2 separate regions of the Homo sapiens genome follow, and region 1 is linked to region 2. Evidence: promoter capture Hi-C in 16 types of primary human blood cells and fetal thymus (Javierre and others, 2016). All regions are on one chromosome and are shown on one strand. Each heading gives the region's core, a stretch centred on a gene start or on the middle of the fragment in contact. The rest is flanking DNA. Distances are from core to core; before and after follow the strand shown.

Region 1 (6,131 bases), core at 2,185-4,684, 500 kb before region 2:
TTACGGGGTTTACTGAGCAGCCACACTGAACATGAGGTTTGATTTGTGAGACTGAGCTAACCTAGATATTTCATGAGGGATTGACTTTAGATTCTGTTATCTTTTTGTGCCCTTTGGTACACAGCTTTTCAAATGAATCAAAAATGGATTCAAAGAAAACTAATTTTCATTTTAAATCCCTATGGTGAAATAGGTCATTTCATATGTTTTCCAAGTGTTGTTTATATTGTGTATGTCTGTATAACATCTAACACACCATGAAAACTAATTAAATGGTAAAATAATTAGAATATTTATACAATCATATAAGTACACAAACTGAAATTTTTCACTCCTTTTTATTTTTTGTCAGTTTATATTAGGTAATTGCATTAGGCAATTTAGAATTTATCTCATCAAATGAAACTTTGAAGAGTATATTCAAGTGAAAATAACAAAGCTCTTTGTGTTTTTAGCAGATTTAACCCCAATAATATTTGAAGTCCTACTGAAGTGCCATGTCAAAGGCATTACAGTAGCTCTGAAGAAAAAGTAAAATACCTTCTGAAACAACTCTGGGAAGAAGCTCACCACCCGGCCACGATACCCACTTCTTGCTGCCAAGAAGCTTCTAGCTACACGGTTTTTCCTTCCACCCCACAGTGCAGTGGAAACAAGACCCAAGCTCTTCTCAAGGAGTAAGCACAGGACAAGTTTCCTGCTAAGTGGTCCTAAGTCAACAAGGCCATCTGATAGGAATTTGAGGAGTAGTGAATTTTATAGGAATAGAGGGGAAAGGACTCTTTTTCCATGTAGGCTTCTCTTGGAGTGGGGAGATTAGGAAATCTCCATGATATAAAATGATGAAAGTTCGAATCATTGTCACCCTACCGGAAAGACTCCAATTTGACCTTAGTGCTTAATCCCTTTAGTTTGAAGTGTAGCTTAAAAGTATTTAAATAAAATACAGCTGCCCCCAAACTGTGAGACTGTGAGTGGGAAGGGACATGACTGTGTACTTGGAGACCTCAGGTATGTTGGGGGTCGGGGGCAGCCACCGGGACGGTTAGAAAACCCAAATGAGTCTTCTAACACTCATTTACCCAATTTAAAGAGAACATTTTGACAATGTTGTGCAAATTTTTTTGCTGCCCACTTTTAGAAACTATACTAGGACAATGTGGGTGGTATATCGGATTATGTACACGAAACATGTGAAGTAAATAGGGTTGTGCCATTTCTAAACATCCAAATACTGAGGTACAAAGAGATGGAATGAGTGTCTCATGATCCCACAGCTTATCGGTGTTAAAGTTTAAATGAAGGGGGGAAAAGGCAATAGATCTGAGAAACTTCTAGTTCATAGGTCTCACATGTCATTGGTAAAGCGTGTTTAAGCGGGGAAAAATGATGATGCTTTCAGTTGGATTCTTAATGAAAACTTGTTACATTCCTTTACTTTTCTCCAGAGACAGCCCAGGCGACAGTTTGCACTTCGCATTCCCTAGGGTATCCAGTCACTGCGTGTTCTCTGCCCTCTTTCAGGACACAGATGAAATCCATCTTCTGTCTTTCATGGGAGTGGTGGGAGGACACGGAGGTGGGGGCGGAATCAAGTTTAAATACTAAGAAAATGAAAACAGATGCGTGGAGAGAAGGCGATGCTGGTGGGAATGAAGGCCCGGAAGCCGTTCTCAGTCCTGGCTGCGTCTGCATGGCGCTCCTCCCCAAAACCCTCCTCCCGAGCCTCCGGGAGGGGCTGGCCTCCGCGGGCATCGCCAGCAGGGAACCGCTCCTCCCTCCGCGGAAAACCCTGCTCGGCAGTCCCAGCATGCCTTTTTCAATACACTGTTTGCAATTAATTGGGAGAACCAGAGCTGGGAGAATTAGGAGACAGACCAGTCCCTGAAACACGTGAGGAGAAAAGTGCAGGGCCTTGTCTGTTTGCAGGCACGGAGAACAGGTGCCAAGGGCAGCGGCTCCTTGGCTGGCCCGCGGGTCCAGGGGACGTGAGCAGACCAGGCCGGTGGCGGGTGGCCGGCCTGGGCGGGAGGCCGCTGTTTGTGGAGGGCCGGCCTGCCAGCCCCCGGACGCCAGGGTGGACTCGGCGGCCTGGCGGGGCTCAAGCCCAGCTATCCATCACTAGCCGCCTAGCGGCTAGCACCCCGGAGCAGGAGCCGCCCCGCCCACCTGGCTCCGCCCAGCCGCTGGCCAGAGCTCATGCGCGCGGGCTGACGTCAGCACCCCGCCCCCGCCCGAGTCAGACACCCGGGTCCGCTCCGCCTGAGACTGAAGGGCGCCGGGTGTCTGCGGGGGCGGGGGAAGCTTGGGGCTTCACCAGGGGGCCAGCTGCCTGGGGGTCTCTCTCCCTCCACCAGTTCTCCTGGTCCTGGAGGGAGCCATCCTCCGCATAAAATACCTTCCTGAACCGCGATGTTGCTGCCTGCAGGATACAACCCAGGCTCTTTATAGCACTCCTCACACAACTGCCTCTGGACCTACTTTTACAAGAGGGGGTGGGGTACTGAGAGGAGGTAACTGTTCCTTGTGGCACAGGAGGAATTTGGCCAGGAGGCTGCTCGTCATGTTACTGGAACTGTGTGGGCTGGGCCAGATGAGCTTGCTGAGAGTCCCAACAAGGACCTATCCAGAACCAGAAGGAGCCCCAGAGAGTGGCGGCCCTGGCCTCGCTCACACAGTGTGCACACACAGGCAGTTTTATACCTCCAGCATGTTCACGCAAATAAATAGCAACCCCAAAGAAAACCTTCACAGTGTCTGCCAATGAGCATCTCATACAATTTATAGTATGCTGTCTACAATTAATTGAACCAACTCCAGGACCTCATGGTGGGGACACGGGGGTCACAGGCAGAGGAAAGGCCAGGTTATGCAACAGTGTTGTATAGTGCGCATCTGGCTCATCTTATGTGCTGAATATACTGCAGGAGATGGCAGGCTTGGAAATGTCAGCCATGGCCAAGATCCTGGCCAAAGGAGGCAAAGATGCTGGAGGCCACTGGATTCACACAGGACTACCCTCACAGGGCTCTGGGGCTATGATGGGTTCTTCACTGACAAGAGAAGAAAGACCTGGGGGTCACAGAAGCCTGAGCGACCTGAGTGAAGGCAGGCATCACAAGGCCTAGTCTTAGAGCTGAGACATGGAGGCCTGCAAGTATAGAGCAGAACAGTGGGTTGTTTTATTTTTTAATCAGTGTACTGAGACTTTACAGATTCTTATAACTTCCTGAGAAGAACATACCAGTATTTTAGGCGTCTGTCTTAAATGTACCCTGTATTGTTTCTTAGAACCCCAAAGAGGCCTACAATGATGCTGGCGTTTTGCCTTGTACTTGCCATCTGATGGCAGGTGAGTTTTCACAAGCATATTACAGCCACTTGAAGGTGACATGAAGGTGATACCTGCCTCCTCTCCTACAGACCAAATACTGCTAAACACTGGCTCCACTCTCCAGACATAAAAGTATGTGCATGGATTCAAGGAGCTTTATTTTTAGAAAACCCTTGAACACATGTATACTGAACAACAACTGAAAGGATAAAAATCTCATTTTGATTTTATCTATAGCACAATTTCTGGTACCGTGGAGAAACAAGAAATTAGCTCTTGTGGGAATGGATTTATATGGAAAACCGAGCAAATCTGTTTTGTTGGGGGAAACTAAATTTATACAGCTGATTTTCTTCAAACTGTTCAAAATACTCAAAGGCCCTATCTCTATTAACCAATGATCTAGAAAAGTCTTCATTTTGAGAATAAAGGAATTTCTAACTACATGGATTTCAAAACAGCCCATCTGACTTTTCTATGCTTTGATTTAGGTTCTTATCCATATACAAGTAGTAGGAAAAAAATGAAATCCCAATGAGCCAACAAGAATGTATTGCAGAGTATTACAGTTGGGCCTCTAAGGAGCAATAACAAAATATACTAAGTATCACCAAATGATATTTACTAATAACCTTCCCAGTTGTAATTACAGTCTGTATCATGAAAGTGGGAAGGTAAAGCAAGTAGAAATGTTTTCTTTCTGCACCCCTGTTCCTTTCCCAACTTTGGTTTGATTCTACCAAGATTCAAGGTTGAAATTTGTCCAGATCAAAGCTAGAGATCATGATGATGGTTCTTTGGGGATGAGGTCAGATTTGATTCATAGTAACATTGCAATAACAACTACTGCCTGCAGTGACATTGGTCATTTCCAACACACCTCCCTATATTATTTTATTATAATGACTCTTTTAGTAAGTGTTGTTATCCCCCACTTAACAGGTGAAGAAACAGAGGTCAGGTAAATTAAATACTTTGAGTCACATGGCTAATGAATAGCTGAACCAAATCCATCTATGGGCTGTCTTGGTCAGTTTCTGCTGCTATAACAAATTGCTATGGACTGGGTGGTTTAAACAACAAACACTTATTTCTCACAGTTCTGGGGGCTGGGAAGATCAAGATGGCAACAGATTTGATGTCCGGCAAAGGGTCTCTTCCTAGTTTGCAGGCAGTCATCTTTTTGTTGCATCCTCACATGGTGGCAAGTACAGACAGGAAGCAAGCTTTCCAATGTCTGTCTTCTGAGGGCTCTAATAGCACCTGAGGGCTCCAGCCTCAGGACATTATCTAAGTCTACTTACCTCTCTAAAGGCCTCACCTTCAAACACCATCCCAGTGAGAGTTAGGGCTTCAGCATAGGAATCTGAAGGGGACATCATTCAGTTCATAGCGCTCACCTCCAAATGAGCACTATGCACATCCTTGGTTTTACTGCATCACCTGGCTGTAGGCCCTGACTGACTGGATGAGAATACAAAGCTAGTATCTCAAGAGAAACTGCACAACACACAGGATTCCTTCATGTACTAAGAACAACATATCATGACCTGATGAAAAAAAAGAAGAAAAAAAATATATATATATACATCTGCTAGACAACTAGAAATTTTTGGGAACAAAAATATACATCAGATACACCCCAAATATATTTTGGTTTGAAACTTGAGTAGAGAAGGAGGATGGGGAGAACTAAATGACCAACTAATTCCTGAGCTATCCTTATGCTACCACCTCATTAATTGGCCCCACTTAAAGCATTAGCTTTGTGAGCATTAAGAACCAACCTCAGAGTATGTGGCCCTAGATTCAGGTTCTGGCCCCTAGATGTACCAGCTTTGTAACCTTGGCAGTTTGCTCTAAGATCTTTGCTATGGTTTGAATGTGCCTCCCAAAAAGCATGTGTTGACAACTTAATCTCCAGTGCAACAGTGTTGGGAGGTGAGGCCTAATAGGAGGTATTTAGGTCTTGAGGCATCCACCCTCATGAATGGGTTAATGCCAATTTATTAAAGACCCTGAGGTTGTGAGTTCAATCTCTTGCTCTCCCTCATTCTCTCTTTGCCATCCCACCATGGCTTGATGCAGCAAGAAGGCCCTCACCAGAGGCTGGCACCTTGATATTGGACTTCACAGCCTCTAGAACTGAGGAAATAAAGTTATGTTCTTTATAAATTACCAAGCCTGTAGTATCCTGTTACAGCAGGACAAAATAGACTAAGATAGTCTTTCAGATCTCATTTCTTCATACATAGAGATTTTTAAGAAGTGCTTATTCCAAGGGTTTTCCTATGAGATTTTAATGAGATAATGCATGTAATGGTACTTTGTGGAGGGCCAGGAAATCAGTAAATCAGCTTTTTTCACAAGCCCACCTCTATTTAAAAACAGAACACTATTTAACTAAAATGAAATGAAGTAAGTACCTTTGCCCAAAAGTCCTTGTTAGTTTATTTGAAAAGGAGCTCTATTTCAGATTATTTTTCAGTTAGCTTTTTGAGAACTGATCAGCTTACACTAAAAGTTCAGCCATTACAGGAAACCTGGGAAATGAAGGAATTCGCATGCTAAAAATAAAAAGAGTTTCAGCCAGTGTTAACCTGAATAGGTATTATGTTATTTCACTTGGGTCTTTTCCTCCAACATGAGTTCAAACAAAAATAACCAAATATGTTTAAAAGCTCTTGCTGCCCAGTGACCCTGCTCTGCGAAGGCCCCATGGTTCTGGTGCTGCAGTATGGGAGGCAGAGGCATTTGCCCTGCAGGACCCTTCCTATACCTCTCCTGACTAATCAGT
Region 2 (5,797 bases), core at 1,054-3,553:
GAAGCGAGAGACTCAGTCTCAAAAAAAAAAAAAAACAAACAAACCCAGGCGCAGTGGCTCACACCTGTAATCCCAGCAATTTGGGAGGCCGGATCACGAGGTCAAGAGATCAAGACCATCCTGGCCAATATGGTGAAACCCCGTCTCTACTAAATATACAAAAAATTAGCTGGGCATGGTGGCACGCGCCTGTTGTCCCAGCTACTCAGGAGACTGAGGCAGGAGAATCGCTTGAGCCCGGGAGGCGGAGGTTGCAGTGAGCCGAGATCGCGCCACTGCACTCCAGCCTGGGTGACAGAGCAAGACTGCGTCTCAAAAAAAAAAAAAAAAAAAACTAGTAGATGGGAACGGTGGCTCACCCCTGTAATCCAGCACTTTGGGAGGCTGAGGCGGGTGGATCACCTGAGGTGAGGAGGGTGCAGTGAGCCAAGATCATGCCACTGCACTCCAGCCTGGGCAATGCAGCGAGACTCCATCTCAAAAAAAAAAAAAAAATACAGACTCCCTATGTACAATATGCTAATAATTTATCAGTAATCTTTATAATTTATATTCAACTTCCAAAACAACTAAAAGTGATTAACAAAAAGTATTTGCCATTAATATCATCTAACCTTTGGTCTTTTCAAAATATTAACATACACTCATGTATAGTGTTATGAAAAAATTGTGTTTAATAATGCAACCCACAAAAGGAAAATGAAAAGTATTAAATTAAAATGCATTATTTTATTACTAAATTTTCAAAAATCTATAAGAGGTCCTAAGCACAACTGTTATAAAGATATGGCCCCGTTAACGAGCACAGATTAGATTTCAGCAAGCACAGTAAAGTCATAACACTAAAATTCCACTTTTAAAACAATCCTTGCCTTACTAGCTAGCTGACCCAAGTATGTATACTACCCCAACACTAGAACTGCTAAAGATCTTAAAACCTATGACACCTATATGTAATAAAGATGTAAAAGACACCACTTAATTAAAATGTATGCAGAATGTATCCTGAGGTATTACTCTAAAGCAACAATTACAACATATATTCAAAGCCTTCCATTTCAGTACATATAGATTTGAAAATTCATTTTATTATGCAATGATGGCATAAACTATTAAATCACACTGCTCTATACTCTTGTTTCAACGAAGACTAGGAAAAGGCAGATCAGGCCGAGCGCGGTGGCTCACACCTGTAATTCCAGCACTCTGGGAGGCCGAAGTGGGCGGATCACCTGAGGTCAGGAGTTCGAGACCAGTCTGGCCAACATGACAAAACCCCGTCTCTACTAAAAATACAAAAATTAGCCGGGCCTGGTGGCACGCGCCTGTAATCCCAGCTACTTGGGAGGCTGAGGCAGGAGAATCACTTGAACCTGGGAGGTGGAGGTTGCAGTGAGCCGAGATCACACCACTGCATTCCAACTGGGCAACAGGGTGAGCCTCTGACTCAAAAAAAAAAAAAAAAAGAAAAGAAAAGAAAAAGGCAGATCACACGGGTTAACATTTTTAAATGTAAACTAAAGCTTAACGTTTTTAACATTTCTGAAATGGTCTAATGTCTAAAACCTCAACGTTAATACTTGTGTGCTCACAGGAAACCAAACATTGTATTCAGTAGGAAAGAGGAGTTGAACAGCTTATCTAAGAAACCACTTGTTCTTCAATTAGCTTTCATCTTGCTCTGGTCTTTTATTTTGTTTGCACTGCAGTTTTCCTCATAAATAATAAAAAGATCACACGTATTCAGTCAGGTAAGAAAGATCCTCTCGCTCTTATTTTAAGGAGCAATCGTCCTCTACTCCCCAACCCATGTCAAGGAGAGTCCAAAGGAATGGGACCCCTACTCTGATCCAGGACACCTCTTGGCCTGACCCATCTTCGGTGCCGGTTGGCCTGACCCATCTTCGGTGCCGGAGGTTGACACCCGCCCACCTTGGGCCTCCTCGCCTCCCTCCCGTAGAGCCTTCAGCCTACAACTCGGACCCGCGCCCGCCGGAACCTACGGGGGCGCCCGCGCGGGAGCCACCCCGCCCCCAGCCCGCCGGCGCGCGGCCGACGCGCGAGCACGACCCGCCAACCCGACGGCCGCCGGGGCCTCGGCGCCGGTCCCACCCGGTCCCAGGCTACGCTCTGCGGAGAGCGCGGCATTCGAGACAGCGCACTCGGGCTTCTCCCGCACGGTCAGCGCTCGGGCGCCAGCAGCAGACGGAGGGGCAGAGCCGGGTCGGAGCGGAAAATCACGCAGCCCGGCCCGGGAACCGACCTGTGGAGACCGCCATCTTCTCCTGCAGCCCGACGCAGCCGCCCGCACGCACGCACGAACCGTCGCGCGTCACTTCCGGGAGCGCGCCGCCCTGCACGCGTCACAGCGGACTCCGCCCCCGGCGGGCGCGGGGCGACCCGAGGGACAGCGCGCACGTGGGCCGAGGGGTCGCGGGGCCTCGCTGCTGTTTCCGCAATTCCCTTGTGAATCCCGCTCTCAAAATGAAACGCTAAAGAATAAGTTCATGAGGGCCGGGCGCGGTGGCTCACGTCTGTAATCCCAGCACTTTGGGAGGCCGAGGCGATCGGATCACCCGAGGTCAGGAGTTCGAAACCAGCCTGGCCAACATGGCGAAACCCCGTCTCTACTAAAAATACAAAAATTAGCCGGACGTGGTGGCGCGCGCCTGTAATCCCAGCTATTTGGGAGGCTGAGGCACGAGAATCGTTTGAACCGGGGAGGCGGAGGGGCAATGAGCCGCGATTGCGCCACTGCACTCCAGCCTGGACAACAGAGCGAGACTCCGCCTCAAAAAAATAAATAAAAATAAGTGGGCATTGACAGATTTGCGTTGATAAACGATTCAAAAGAGTTGGACAATAAATTTGAACAGCTAGGGATGCTGAGGTGGGAGGGTCACGTGAGCCCAAGAGGTGAGGCTGCAGTGAGCAGAAATCGCTGCACTCCAGCCTGGGCAACAGAGGGAGACTCCATTTCAAAAAAAAAAAAGAAAGAAAGAAAAAGGAAAGTAATACAGGCTGGGCGCCGAAGCTCACTTCTGTAATCCTAACACTTTGGGAGGCTGAGGCAGGAGGATGGCTTGAACCCAAGACTTTGAGACCAGCTTGGACAACATAGTGATACCTAGTCTCTACATAAAACTGAAAAAAAAAAAAAAAAAAGATTTTTCACATCCCTTGTAGGTTGTATTCCTAGGTATTTTTATTCTCTTTGTAGCAATTGTGAATGGGAGTTCACTCATGATTTGGCTCTCTGTTTGTCTGTTATTAGTGTATAGGAATGCTTGTGATTTTTGCACATTGATTTTGTATCCTGAGACTTTGCTGAAGTTGCTTGTCAGCTTAAGAAGATTTGGGGCTGAGACTATGGGGTTTTCTAAATATACAATCATGTCATCTGCAAACAGAGACAATTTGACTTCCTCTTTTCCTAATTGAATACCCTTTATTTCTTTCTCTTGCCTGATTGCCCTGGCCAGAACTTCCAATACTATGTTGAATAGGAGTGGTGAGAGAGGGCATCTTTGTCTTGTGCCGGCTTTCAAAGGGAATGCTTTTGGCCGGGCATGGATCCCAGCACTTTGGGAGGCGGAGGCGGGCGGATCACGAGGTCAGAAGATCAAGACCATCTTGGCTAACACAGTGAAACCCTGTCTCTACTAAAAAAAAAAAAATACAAAAAATTAGCCAGGCATGGTGGCAGGCCCCTGTAGTCCCAGCTACTCGGGAGGCTGAGGCAGGAGAATGGCGTGAACCCGGGAGTTGGAGCTTGCAGTGAACCGAGATGGCGACACTGCACTCCACCCCAGCCTAGGGGACAGAGCGAGACTCCATCTCAAAATAAAAAAAAATAAAAAATAAAAAGAATCCTTCATTCCAGTTTTCGCCCATTCAGTATGATATTGGCTGTGGGTTTGTCGTAAATAGCTCTTATTATTTTGAGATACATTCCATCAATGCCTAGTTTATTGAGAGTTTTTAGCATGAAGGGCTGTTGAATTTTGTCGAAGCCTTTTCTGCATCTATTGAGATAATCATGTGGTTTTTGTCATTGGTTCTGTTTATGTGATGGATTACATTTATTGATTTGCATATGTTGAAGCAGCCTTGCATCCCAGGGATGAAGCCGACTTGATCTTGGTGGATAAGCTTTTTTGATGTGCTGCTGGATTCGGTTTGCCAGTATTTTATTGAGTATTTTCGCATCAATGTTCATCAGGGGTATTGAGCCCACGTAGCCAAGGCAATCGTAAGCAAAAGGAACAAAGCTGGAGGCATCACACTACCTACCTGACTTCAAACTATACTGCGAGGCTACAGTAAAAAAAATTGCCTAGTACTGGTACCAAAACAGATATATAGATCAATGGAACAGAACAGAGGCCTCAGAAATAACTCCACATATCTACAACCATCTGATCTTTGACAAACCTGACAAAAACAAGCAATGGGGAAAGGATTCCTTATTTAATAAATGGTGTTGGGAAAACTGGGTAGCCATATGCAGAAAGCTGGAACTGGATCCCTTCCTTACACCTTATACAAAAATTAACTCAAGATGGATTAAAGACTTAAACGTAAGACCTAAAACCATAAAAACCCTAGAAGAAAACCTAGGCAATACCATTCAGGATGTAGGCATGGGCAAAGACTTCATGACTAAAACACCAAAAGCAATGGCAACAAAAGCCAAAATTGACAAATGGAATCTGATTAAACTAAAGAGCTTCTGCACAGCAAAAGAAACTACCATGAGAGTGAACAGGCAACCTATAGAATGGGAGAAAATTTTTGCAATCTATCCATCTGACAAAGGGCCAATATATAGAATCTACAAAGAACTTAAACAGATTTACAAGAAAAAAATAAGTCCATCAAAAAGTGGGCAAAGGATATGAACAGACACTTCTCAAATGAAGACATTTATGCAGCCAACAAACATGAAAAAAAGCTCATCATCACTGGTCATTAGGGAAATGCAAATCAAAACCACAATGAGCTACCATCTCACACCAGGTAGAATGGTGATCATTAAAAAGTCAGGAAACAACAGATGCTGGAGAGGATGTGGAGAAATAGGAATGCTTTTACACTGTTGGTGGGAGTATAAATTAGTTCAACCATTGTGGAAGACAGTGTGGCGATTCCTCAAGGATCTAGAACTAGAAATACCATTTGACCCAGCAATCCCATTACTGGGTATATACCCAAAGCATTATAAATCATTCTACTATAAAGACACATGCACATGTATATTTATTGTGGCACTGTTCACAATAGCAAAGACTTGGAACCAACCCAAATGGCCATCAGTGATAGACTGCATAAAGAAAATGTGGCAAATATACACCATGGAATACTATGCAGCCATAAATTAGGATGAGTTCATGTCCTTTGCAGGAACATGGATGATGCTGGAAACCGTCATTCTCAGCAAACTATCACAAGAACAGAAAACCAAACACCTCATGTTCTCACTTATAAGTGGGAGTTGAACAGTGAGAACACATGGACACAGGGAGGGGAACATCACACACTGGGGCCTGTCAGGGGTTGGGGGCTAGGGGAGGGATAGCATTAGGAGAAATACGTAATGTAGATGACAGGTTGATGGGTGTAGCAAACCACCATGGCACGTGTATACCTCTGTAACAAACCTGCATGTTCTGCCCCTGTTCCCCAGAATTTAAATTAAAAAAAAAAAAAAAGGAGAAAAAGTAGTTAAGAGAAAAAAAAAAAAGCTGGCATTCTGGTTCGTGCCTGTAGCCTCAACTACTCAGGAGGATGAGATGGG

Evidence for each region. The method cuts DNA at HindIII sites, captures the fragments that hold promoters and counts their contacts. A CHiCAGO score of 5 or more calls a contact.
Region 1: a contact is called between a fragment that was not itself captured here and the fragment with the promoter of UBE2V2 in region 2, in 2 of 17 cell types (total CD8 T cells and non-activated CD4 T cells). The highest score is 7.0, in total CD8 T cells.

What each region holds. Positions count from the first base shown.
Region 1 is chr8:48,510,681-48,516,811 of GRCh38, reverse strand. LINC02947 (long intergenic non-protein coding RNA 2947) reads left to right here. Exons shown (of 2, transcript NR_183464.1): 2 at 456-960. Among named protein-coding and RNA genes, the nearest start is that of LINC02947, 4.3 kb to the left of the region's middle. RefSeq lists an enhancer at 1,618-1,697 and silencers at 1,888-1,997, 2,068-2,297. The HindIII fragment of the contact is 2,256 bases long and covers 2,307-4,562 here.
Region 2 is chr8:48,004,937-48,010,733 of GRCh38, reverse strand. It overlaps UBE2V2 (ubiquitin conjugating enzyme E2 V2), which reads right to left and starts at 2,303. Exons shown (of 4, transcript NM_003350.3): 1 at 2,264-2,303. The coding sequence starts at 2,279. RefSeq lists silencers at 1,908-2,107, 2,338-2,597. The HindIII fragment of the contact is 2,629 bases long and covers 1,526-4,154 here.